Regions from separate parts of the Homo sapiens genome. Here regions 1 and 3 are each linked to region 2. Evidence: promoter capture Hi-C in 16 types of primary human blood cells and fetal thymus (Javierre and others, 2016). All regions are on one chromosome and are shown on one strand. Each heading gives the region's core, a stretch centred on a gene start or on the middle of the fragment in contact. The rest is flanking DNA. Distances are from core to core; before and after follow the strand shown. Region 1 overlaps ACYP2 (acylphosphatase 2). Region 2 holds the start of SPTBN1 (spectrin beta, non-erythrocytic 1). Region 3 overlaps ACYP2 (acylphosphatase 2).

Region 1 (3,554 bases), core at 86-2,585, 290 kb before region 2:
AGGAGTGTTACAGAAGAATTTTTCTACCTAAATAATTTTGAACGCTATTCTTTCTAAAGTATGTTAGACTTATCGCTTACCTTTTTCCCCACAGAATGGAAGCTATTTAGCAGAGGTTGGCCTTTTTCTGATGACTCCAGTAGATAGTTTCAGCAGTGAATCTTCCAGGGCTAATTAGCATGTGTGGTGCCATTGGAGTTGCATGCTTGCGTTCTTGGGTCCTGGTGTGTTGTTCCTCTTTGTTAGGTCTGTCTGATTTTGATCTGTTTCTTTGATGCTTGGAGCACACCCATGAGAGCCTCCCCTATCCCCCTTTGACTTCAGTTTCAAATTTATGGACATTACTGAAATAAATACACACATGCTCACCTTCGTTTGGATCCTACATCAAAAAATGTGATAAACAATCCTCAGCCTCTAGAATTTTTTTTTTTAAGAGAGAATAGGTCTTGCTATGTTGGCCATGATGGCCTCATGCAACCCTCCTGCCTTGGGTTCCCAAAGTGCTGAGATTACAGGCATGATCCACTTCACCTGGCCAACCTCTAGGAATTTGATGTAAGTCTAGCTACTACCTACCAGCCATATCCATGTACTCTAGACAACATTTTTGACAAACAGTGCACAGGAAAGGCCCATGAAACTTACGGTTTTTTTTCCATCGAGAAAAATATTGCCTTCTATTTCTATAAGTTAATTTTATTTTTCAATAATTCTAATAATTAATGAAATAATACCTGGATGCTAAGAGTCAAACAGTGCTAAAAATATTTAAAAACCAGCAACTACTGCCTCTTCAACCCATCCCATCCCACTCCTCAACAATAGTTTTAGCGATTTTTTTGAGTATTCCTCCTAATTTCAGATTAACTGGTATCTCTTAAATCATTAACTTTAGATATTATCTGGTGACTTTTTACCGTGATAGACAAATCTATTGATGTCCTATTATGATAGATGAAGATGTGACTCTTAAACTAGTCTTTCCTTCCCTCATTTCCTCATTATGCTTTTATATGACTTTTGGTTAATGCATCAGCAGTCAGTTTTTATATTTTTAGAACTATGTAAGTTGTGTCCTAAGGTGCCCTCAAGGAGGAATCTGGCTCCAGTTGTTCATTTCTTCTTTTTATTTTGAGACAGACTCTCACTCTGTTGCCCAGGCTGGTGTGCAGTGGCGCGATCTTGGCTCACTGCAACCTCCACCTCTTGAGTTGAAGTGGTTCTCCTGCCTCAGCCTCCCGAGTAGCTGGGATTACAGGTGTGTGTCACCATGCCTGGCTCATTTTTGTATTATTAGTAGAGACGGGGTTTCACCATGTTGGCCAGCCTGGTCTCGAACTCACAGCCTCAAGCAGTCTGCCTGCCTCCGCCTCCCAAAGTGCTGGGATTACAGGCATGAGCCACCACGCCTGGCCAGTTCATTTCTTCTTTTAGCGTTTTGTGACACTTGGTGATACTTGGTTGCCAATACCAGGTGATAGAAAAACTTTACCTCCAAATCCTGTTGCAGAAATTTTTCTTAAAACAGTTTTTTTTTTTTTTTAAAATCACAGAATAGACACAGTCTCTTAGGCGGTTGGAAGTATATTCACATCTCCAGCTAGATGGGAAAATCTTGTGGGCAGGGATTGTAATATGACTTTGGGATTGTAATATGACTTCGTAAAGAACAGGGATTTTTAAAAGGAAAGGTTAAGATTTGGATAGGCAAAAGGAAGGAGGATATGCTTTATACTTTTGGTCTCTTGACCTTATCTGAAGGCCTGGAACTCCTGTAATGAAGTAGTTACACAGTCAAAGGTGGGAGGAGGGTCTGTTAGCATCCATCTGCAGGTCTCAGTAATTCTCCACTGCCTGACACAATCACCTCCTCACTGCCCCTGTGAGGTGCAGCGCCATCCAAGTCAATCACAGGGAAATGCCAGGGCTCACTTTGTTTATTTACTGGAGTGGCTGGTTGTACTGGGAGGCTATCAAGACTATCGGGAGGGCTCGGCATTTCATACTCTTTGGGCTGCCTTCTGTGTGTATGTGACAGATCCTGGGCCGGGATCTCTGAGCCAGAGCTCCTCTCAAGGTTAACCTTGTACATCCCCCTCCCCATATGTGATCAGCAGGGGACAGGCTGGAGTGCGCAAGCCGGAGTGCACATTCCCAAAGGTTCACGCTGGCCTTCCTTCGTGTCTGCTGTCCAGCCCCAAATACGACCCTTTTAATCTCATAAAACTACTCAGAAGGGCTTCAAACATAAAGAAATACAGTCCACAGCTTTCCTCCCCATACTGAAGATAGCGAATGGAATATGGGAATGTTATCGGGGGGCGAGCTGTTACCCATCCACTAAGAGCCCTAGTTCCTGATGGCCAAATGCATATCTTCTCTATTAAGCAAATTTATCTGCCAAAAAGCTGTGTTATGCCAAAAAGTTATGTCCACAAATTTAGGACACTATCTTGTGTCGTTTGTGGTTGTATAAGAATCACAATGTGGCGTTGGTTGCTAAATACATTATTAACCTGTTTGAGAGCAACTCTGTTGTTTTCTTTGCTCATGAAGGTCAATTTTCACCAGTAGAAGCATTACAAATTTAACTTGAGGATCTTAGTTTTTTTTTCCTGTAAGAGCTTTTTTCACCCCTTTCATTAGTAATTCTAAAAATTTTGAACTGGAAATTTTAATAATAGAGTAAGTAAATCTAAGCTTCTTTGGAAGTTGTACTTGTCAGTTCTATTTTTCGGTGTCTTAGGAAACAAGTTAAAAACGGCTTTTTAGTTCTTAATACATTTCTAATTACAGTTCTTTCTCCTCTTTAAGGGGCTTGCTTTTCTTTAAAAAGGTGCCGTTTTCTTTCCCTGTACTAATTGGAATGTTGGTTTTAAAAATTGATATTCTTGGGTTGGGTGTGGCGGTTCACACCTGTAATCCTACCACTTTAGGAGGTTGAGGGAGGAGGATCTCTTGAGCCTAGCAGTGCAAGATCAGCCTAGTCAACATAGGGATACCCCATCTCTACAAAAATAAAAAATACAATTAGCCAAGGATGGTGGGATGTGTCTGTAGTCTCAGCTACTCAGGAGGCTGAGGCAGGAAGGATCCCTTGAACCCAGGAGTTTGAGGCTGCAGTGAGCTATAATTGTGCCACTGCACTTCAACCTGGGTAACAGAGCGAGACCCTGTCTCTAGAAAAATAAAAATTATATTCCTTCTAACCATGGTCATTAAAAAAATATGTATATAAATATACACATGTATATATATTTGCTTGCAAAGAGACAAAAGTCATTACTTAAGGCAAAGCTTTTAAAATTGAAGATGTTTCATATGATCATGTGCTTTGTTTATGAACACATTTGTACCAACTGAAGTGTTGGCCTTGGTTGAATTTCCTTCTTTTCTCCAAATCATCAAAACTGATGAAATGTCAATCATGTTGACCAATTTTTCACAACAATGTGTGTAACCCATGGCAGTGAAGGGTGTGAAGACAAATTTAGCTTCCACACCTGGAGAGGGAGCAGTATGTGGATGAGTAGAATAAATTGAACTCTACT
Region 2 (3,744 bases), core at 1,123-3,622:
GTGGAGAGTAGTATGTTACAAACATGATATTGAAGACTTCTAGGTTCCTTTATATCAACCCTGATTCTAATATGAGAAGAAACTAAGCCGCTTCTGAGATACATGGGAATAATCCTTCTGAGCTGTTATCACTGCCTAAGACTTTTTATCTTTTTTAGATTTTGCCTTCCATAAAAATGTCTTCTCCAATAATCTTTCCAGTTGTACTATCTTTTCTTTGAATTGTTACTTCTTTTTGGTCGTTGGTACACTGAGTTCTCTAGGGTGATTTTTTGCACCTAAGGGTAAGAATTCAAAATTGTGATGCAGGTATTTACAGTAGAACTCTGAATCCTTGTCTTTCACATTTTTGGAATAATTACTGGGGCTTTACTAGAGTACCTTGCTAAGGTGTGTGTGGCCTTTTTTTTTTTTTTAATTAAAAAACAACGTAAGTGGGAGTGGAATGGGGTAAGGGAGGTGAATCATTCATCAAATGAAAATTTATTTAAATACCGTTGTCTGTGATAAAGGAATAACCATTTCAGAATAACACTGGAAGAATTAATTTAAATGGATGCACTTCCCAATATTGTTACTGTTTTCTTTGGTATTTCATTAACATTGTGAGTGGGGAGGTGCTGGGGTCCATGGTAAAAAAATAAGTAAGTGAAAGGCAAACAACTTTGCTTTCTAGTGGATTTCCCTTATTACCTAATGAGGGCAGCAGCTTACAAGTTGATTGTGTTCAATTCAACAAATTTGTTTTAGTACCTAAGTGCCTGCTATATGTACAGAGTGAAGAAAGAAATAACCCTACCTTTAAGAGAGTTTACGGTCTGGTTGTGTTGATTCACCTTCTGAGAAAAAATGTTATTTGCTTTCCTCAATTTTTTTCCTATCAAAAGTAAACATAGGTTCAAACATTCAAACCTATGAAGGCCTAAAAGGAAGAATCATCTTCAGTTTGCTGTGACGATTTCACTGAGTTTTATTTTAAAATATTCATTTAAAAATACATACAAACATATAAACCCATCAGGCCAGGTTCTAGTGATCTGAGATATAAGCATGATACAAACTACTTGGCTGCCGTGTATTTTTGTTTTATTTTAATCCAGGTGATCAGGTCTGTATGGGGAAAAAGCCCTGGGGCTTTTTCAAACAGGAAGGGCCCTCCTCCCTCTGAATGCCCGCAGTGCCGCCCTGTGCACTTTACAGAACAAGGAGAAAGTCAGTTTCTTCAAACTGCTTTTCTAAAGAGCGTTTCCATTCGTGGTCCTGGTGATTCCACCATCTTTTCTTCACAACAGTGACGGTTCTGGAATTTCTACACAGCCTGAGGGGCTGACGGGGTAGACCAGGTGACTGGGAAGGGGCAGTGGCACATGACAAAAATTTGAGGAAACGTCCAGTTTCCGTTTCAGGGAATGCGCATAGGGGAAAACGCAAGTCCCCACGCCATCACGGGGCCCTCCACCGCGGCCGGACGACCCCTCTCTCGGGAGTGACTGGGGCAGGGCACCTGGCCTCAGGTTCGAGCGGAGCCTGCACTGAGAGGCAGGAGTTGGATGAACCACTTGTAGGGTCTGCTCCCAGCTACCCAAAGCGAAAGGGTGGGCGAAAAAGCATTTGCAAAAGAATACATTAACCTCACAAGGAACGACCCCCACCACCCATCCTCCAGCGCCCAAGGTTTCCCACGAAGAGGTCGCCGTCGCCCTTCTCCAAGTTGGGTAGAACCTATAAGGCATCACCAACTGCATCTCAAACCAACCAAGCAAGTGACGCTCCAAAACCTCCCTAAATACCCTCTCTCCCCAGCATTCCGAACGCAACATCAAGGGCGAAAAGAGGCTGCACAAATCACGTAGAAAATTAGACCGCCTCTTTCCATGGCGATAATCGAATTAGCCTCAAATTAAACGTGAAATTGGCCCTCTCCGGCTGTGGAGACAAAGCCCCTATTGTCCTGCTCGGGTAGCGGCAGCAGCAGTGCCCACCCCGCCCCGGCCAGCCTGGTCGGTCCCCGCCGCTGGGAGGATGAGGTCCGGGCTGGACCCGGGAAGAGCCTCAGCTGGAGAGGACGTGGACGCGCCCGAGGCTCGGCTCCCTGGGCGGCTGCGGGGCTCCGGGCAGGAGGAGAGGGCGGGCGAAGCAGAGGGAGCGGGCGGGAGTGGGGAGGGAGGAGTGCGGAGGGCGGAGGGCGTGCGGGAGGGATCCCGGGAGTGCGCTTGTGTGTGTGTGCGCGCGCGCCCGCCCCGCGCGCTCCTCTCCCCGCCCCTCGCCCCCTCCCTGCGAGCGCCCTCCTCTCCTCCTCCCCCCGCCCCCCGCGCTCCCGCCCAGCCCCCGGAATCAGTGCCGCTGTTGCCGTGCAGGCTGCGGATTCCTCCAGTCCCTCCCTCGGCCGCCTCTCCTCCCGGAGCGAGCGCGCAGCCCTGCGCAGCAGCGCCCACTGGTCCCGTCCTGTGAGCCCCGGCCCCAGCCGCGGACAGACCCGCGGAGTCGCCTCCCGGCCCACCCGCCCGGCCGCCGAGGAGCGGGAGGAGGACGGGACCCCGGCGCCCCCACCCCATCCCCGGGAGGTAGGTAGGGGGCCCGAGGCAGGGAGATGCCAACTCACTGGGGCTGCCTCCCGGGTGGGCTCCGCGGCGGCGGACGGGCGGGAGGAGGGGCGCGGGCCCAGGGCCGGAGGACGCCGCTGCCCGCCTGCCCTGCGCCCGGGGAGCCGCGTGGGGGCAGGGAGGCTGCAAAGCCCGGGCGGGGGCGGCGCGGGGAGCCCGGGTCGCGGGTGCTCATTGGTACTCGGATGATGCGGGACGAGGGGCGGCAGGCTCTGCGGTGAGGCGGCAGCAGACCCGCCGTGCGCACCGCTGCCGTCCGGCCCCAGCCCCGGCGCGGCGCGGCGATTCCTCCTCCCTGCCTCCGCCGGCGCCTCCCTGCAGCCGGGCGCGGCGGCCCCTGACGCGGAGGCCCCTGGCGCGGAGGTGGGTGCGGAGCGGACAGCGGACAGCCGGAGGGTCTATTTTCAGGTGCCCTCTCTGTGGCCCCGCGGGTGGGGAGCGGGGGCGGCGGTGACAGGGCCGGGCTCTGCGCGTAGCGGTGCAGGGGATGCGGCCAGGCGTGGTCCCGGCTGCGCCGCGCTGCAGCTGAGCCGGAGGCGGCGGCCCCGCGCCCCCACCTCCGCCCCATCCCTGCGCTTGCTACCCTCGTGCGCCCGCCCCCCCCCCGCCCTTTCTGCCGTCCCCACTCTCCCAGGGCTGGGCGTGAGCCGCCTCCGGGCGCCGAGCCGCCGCTGCGCCCGCCCTTCAGCTCCTGCCACCCTCTCTTCAACAGGTTTGTCTCAGCGCAGGGACCCTCCGGGCCTGCTTTGGGTAGGTGGGCTGGCTCGTCATCACCCCCCACACCACGCCCACGGCCCTCTTTTAGGGGGCGCCTTCTCTTTGTTTTTGTGATAGGAAAGGTGCCAACTGCTGCCATCAGATGAGGAGGGGGTGGGGATCAGAACGCAAACCTCTGTCCATTATTTTTCCAATCGAAAGCCAGGCCAGATAGTAAGTGAGGACAGGGTGCGTGTGGGGGTGCTTCGGCGGAGCAGAAAATTGAATTCGGTGGGGTTTATTTGGGCGGGGATGTGCTTTTTTGGCAAGATGGATGGCTCACGGTGCCCTCGCCGTGATGCAGCACAATGCAGCAGTATCGCAGCTTCCTTGGTTCTCGCTGGCGGGGCTTGGCACGGCCGCTCGGCGCCTGCGGCCCCCGCCC
Region 3 (3,851 bases), core at 523-3,022, 260 kb before region 2:
TAATATCTTTATTATCTCATTTAATTCTTAAAACAAGTCTATAAAATGGAAATGATGATCAAACTTCGTTGATAGAAGGAAATGTAAGTTTAGGGAGAGTGAAATAACTCATTTAAACAGATACCACTTGTTAGATGGTAGTGCTGGGATGAGCTCCCAGAGCTGACTCTACCCTCCATCTGAATCAGGTGTGTATTTCTTGAATTGGCACACACTTAGTCGTGACAAGTACTCAAAAGATAAAATAAAAATTGTATTGAATGAATACAATTTAGCTTTATATTTGTTTTTTTCTTTCAGTTGTATTCTTGTTTTGCTCATAAGGCCAAATTTTCATTTAATAATATGTGAATTTATACTCATGATGAAAATCAATCTTATATTTTTAATCTATAATATAGGTGGGAATGTAGCCTGGAATGACTGACAGCTGTTATTATACAAATAGCACATGCTGGCAAAATGGCAGCAATTTTTGTGATCTGTAATTAGGATATTACTGTTGTCTTTATATCTGCAAATAAGTAGTAATGTATTAGAAAGTAATTGGCATAATGAGTTGGGAAAAAATAGAAACACTCTCATTTATGATTCATTTAAAACTTGCTTAAACATTATAGAGTAAAATATTCTGTTCATGTGATTTTATTTGTGCTGTGCTTAAAATATTAAAAATCAGATTTCCAAATAGGCATGATATATGAAGCCTTAGGACTGATCATCTTTCACCCCATCAACATTTTCTTTTTTTTCTTTTTGAGATGGAGTCTCCCTCTGTCACCCAGGCTGGAGTGCAATGGCACGATCTAGGCTCACTGCAACCTCTGTCTCCCAGGTTCAAGTGATTTCTCCTGCCTCAGCCTCCCAAGTAGCTGGTACCACAGGGGTGTGCCACCGCACCTGGCTAATTTTTGCATTTTTAGTAGAGATGGGGTTTCACCATGTTGGCCAGGCTGATCTTGAACTCCTGACCTCAAGTGATCCACCTGCCTTGGGCTCCTAAAGTGCTGGGATTACAGGCATGAGCCACCGCGCCCAGCCCCCATCAACATTTTCTTTTGGGAACACTGTGTAATGGATTTTAGTCAATTCTACAGGAAGTAAAACATCAATATTTGGAAGTGAAAAAAATTAACTGCATACTTTTATTGAGTTAAAGCTTTCCTTTAACTCAGCTTTTTCATCCAGGAGGCACGTTATTAAAATCTTGAGTGCACTCATTGATTATTTTTCTTTTATCAGGAAGTCCATAATGTTATATAATAATATATTATATGAACATATAGTACAAATTATATCTATTGAGTAATAAGTACCATCAACATCAAAGACTATGTTATTTTTCACCTTTAATTTTGTTCTTTTTTTCTCTTTAATATATTTACAAGTTCTGCAAACACTTTCTGTTGCTTTGTCATGTTATTATCAATTTGTTTGCAAGTGTCATGTTTGGTATTCCTAACTAGATATGAAAGCTATTTAGGTTAGGAATGAACTGTTTCCTTCTTTTATGAACCTTTATACCTTCTTACAATGCTATCCACATAGTAGGCTGTCACTTGACTGTATATTACTAGAAGTGTATATATTCAGAGTTGGTATCACTAGTGGAAACTCTAGAAGCTATTTTAGGATGTTGTGTTTTCTGATAATGAATATTCAAATGAAGGTAGGAATAGAGAGAACCATATGCATTGACTTATTTTTGGTACCTCCCCAAACTAGGTCAGAATAGAGACCTCAAAATTCAGTGGCTAAACTGCTTCACTCTTTTCTTTTTAGTCATATTTACAATGGCAGTTTTTGATCTTCACAGAACTTCATGTGCATCTGCCTACAGGGTGTTTCTCTTCTGTTGGCCTCATTAGCTCCTTTGGGAATGTGGTCACTGCTATAAAAGGGCCGATTGTTAGATTCTATGGTATAGAGGGCATTGCCAGTCACAAACCAATTTACCTAGCTTCATGGACCTCCGCAGATCTTCTCAGATCCTTAAACTTCTTTGTTGCTAGTGATAATTAACTGAGAGATGATATTAATATTTTAGATATATATCCTTTGACAGTCAGCTTCCTTTCACGACTATAGTTAATAGATTTAATCCCTTAAGTAAGTGTCACTGGAAGCCCAAGTAATACTAGCTGAAACAAAAGAGAGGGTGGTTTTTCTCTTACGTAAGAGAAGTACAGAGATACACAGTTCATGGCTCGCATGGCAGTTCCCTGCTTACAAGGATCCCAAACTCCATCCTCCAGGGCACCTCATGGTTGCCATGTGGCCCCCGCAGCCCCAGCTATCACATCCGCAGCCACGTTGCAAGAATGAAGACTGGCCAAAGGCAAAAAAAAAAAAACAAAACACTGTACTAACTGGGTCAATTGTCTTTAAAGCTTTTTCTTAGGAGCTGTTATTCAGTGACATGTGCTTCATTTAGTTGCAAGAGAGGATGGTTAAATAATTTTTTAGAGGGGTACATTGTCATCGTTTTGTTGTGGGTTTTTTTTTTTTTTTTTTTTTGAGACAGAGTTTTGTTCCATCGCCTAGGCTAGAGTGCAATGGCGCGATCTTGGCTCACTGCAATTTCTGCCTCCTGGGTTCCAGCAGTTCTTCTGCCTCAGCCTCCTGAGTAGCTGGGATTACAAGCGCCTGCCACCACACTCAGCTAATTTTTGTATTTTTAGTAGAGACAAGGTTTCAACATGTTGGTCAGGCTGGTCTCAAACTCCTGACCTCAGATGATCTACCCACCTTGGCCTCCCAAAGTGCTGGGATTACGGGCATGAGCCACCATGCCCGGCCCACATTGTCATCTTAATTAAAATTGGATTTTATTACTAAAGAGAAAGGGCTGAATGTGTATTAAATGGGCATCTAGAACTTCTGCCATACCTTGATATTTAACATATTTTATTTTTTCAGACAGGGCCTCACTCTGTCAGCCAGGCTCAAGGGCAGTAGCACAATCTTGGCTCACTGAAACCTCCGCTCACTGCAATCTCCACCTCCCAGGCTCAAGCCATCCTCCCACCTCAGCTTCCCGAGTAACTGGGACTACAGACTTAACCTATTTTAAGATTTGTCCTTTAAAAAAAAGATTTGTCCTTTTTCCCAAATGAGCCATGGATGTGTGCTTTATATGGCTTTGTTTCTGTGGTAAACATACACAGACCTCCAGCCAAGATTTAATTTTCTTCTTCTGATGTGATTATTTCAATTTTTTTTAAGATTTGGTGAATTACATTAAATAAATATTTATTAAGCTCCTCTCATCATCAGGATACTGTGCTAGATAGGGATTCTCAGCTTTGGTGCTATTGGCATTTGGGGCTGGATAATTCTTTGTTGTGAGGGGCTGTCCTGTGCATTAGGATGTTTAGCAGCTTCTCTGGCCTTCACCCTCTAGTTGCAACTAGCAACCCCCAGTCGTGGTCACCAAATTTGTCTCCATATATTGGTCACATCCCCAGTGGGGATGAAATCGCCCCCAGAGGACCATGGTGCTAGAAGATAGCCCCACATTTATGTGAATTGCCTGTTTGATTTCCTGTGAAAGTGTATCATGGTAGATTAAGTGTTGCTTGAACTGTTGCTTGCTGTTGGTATTACGAGCGAAGTAGTACTGGTGGAATTTTCATGTGTGCTGGACACCATGATGAGAACTGTCCACGTGTCACCTCATTTAATCCTCATAGCACAACACTGAGTTAAAACAGCACTGTGTTAGGAGAAGGTACTAACAAGATTAGGTAGTATTATAACCCCCCTTTACAGAGGAGCAAAATGAGGCTTAGAGATTATTTTAGCTGAGATCTCCCTGAGAGCAAGCCTGAGACAGTGAGTGGTTCGTTGGG

What was found. The method cuts DNA at HindIII sites, captures the fragments that hold promoters and counts their contacts. A CHiCAGO score of 5 or more calls a contact.
Region 1: a contact is called between a fragment that was not itself captured here and the fragment with the promoter of SPTBN1 in region 2, in 2 of 17 cell types (megakaryocytes and endothelial precursors). The highest score is 6.0, in megakaryocytes.
Region 3: a contact is called between a fragment that was not itself captured here and the fragment with the promoter of SPTBN1 in region 2, in 2 of 17 cell types (megakaryocytes and endothelial precursors). The highest score is 8.0, in megakaryocytes.

The regions. Positions count from the first base shown.
Region 1 is chr2:54,169,035-54,172,588 of GRCh38, forward strand. The region is part of intron 3 of ACYP2 (acylphosphatase 2); the gene reads left to right. Among named protein-coding and RNA genes, the nearest start is that of ACYP2, 55 kb to the left of the region's middle. The HindIII fragment of the contact is 2,731 bases long and covers 1-2,701 here.
Region 2 is chr2:54,453,955-54,457,698 of GRCh38, forward strand. SPTBN1 (spectrin beta, non-erythrocytic 1) reads left to right here and starts at 2,373. Exons shown (of 36, transcript NM_003128.3): 1 at 2,373-2,564. The HindIII fragment of the contact is 18,714 bases long and covers 1-3,744 here.
Region 3 is chr2:54,193,299-54,197,149 of GRCh38, forward strand. All of the region lies in intron 3 of ACYP2 (acylphosphatase 2), which reads left to right. Among named protein-coding and RNA genes, the nearest start is that of TSPYL6, 61 kb to the right of the region's middle. The HindIII fragment of the contact is 1,231 bases long and covers 1,158-2,388 here.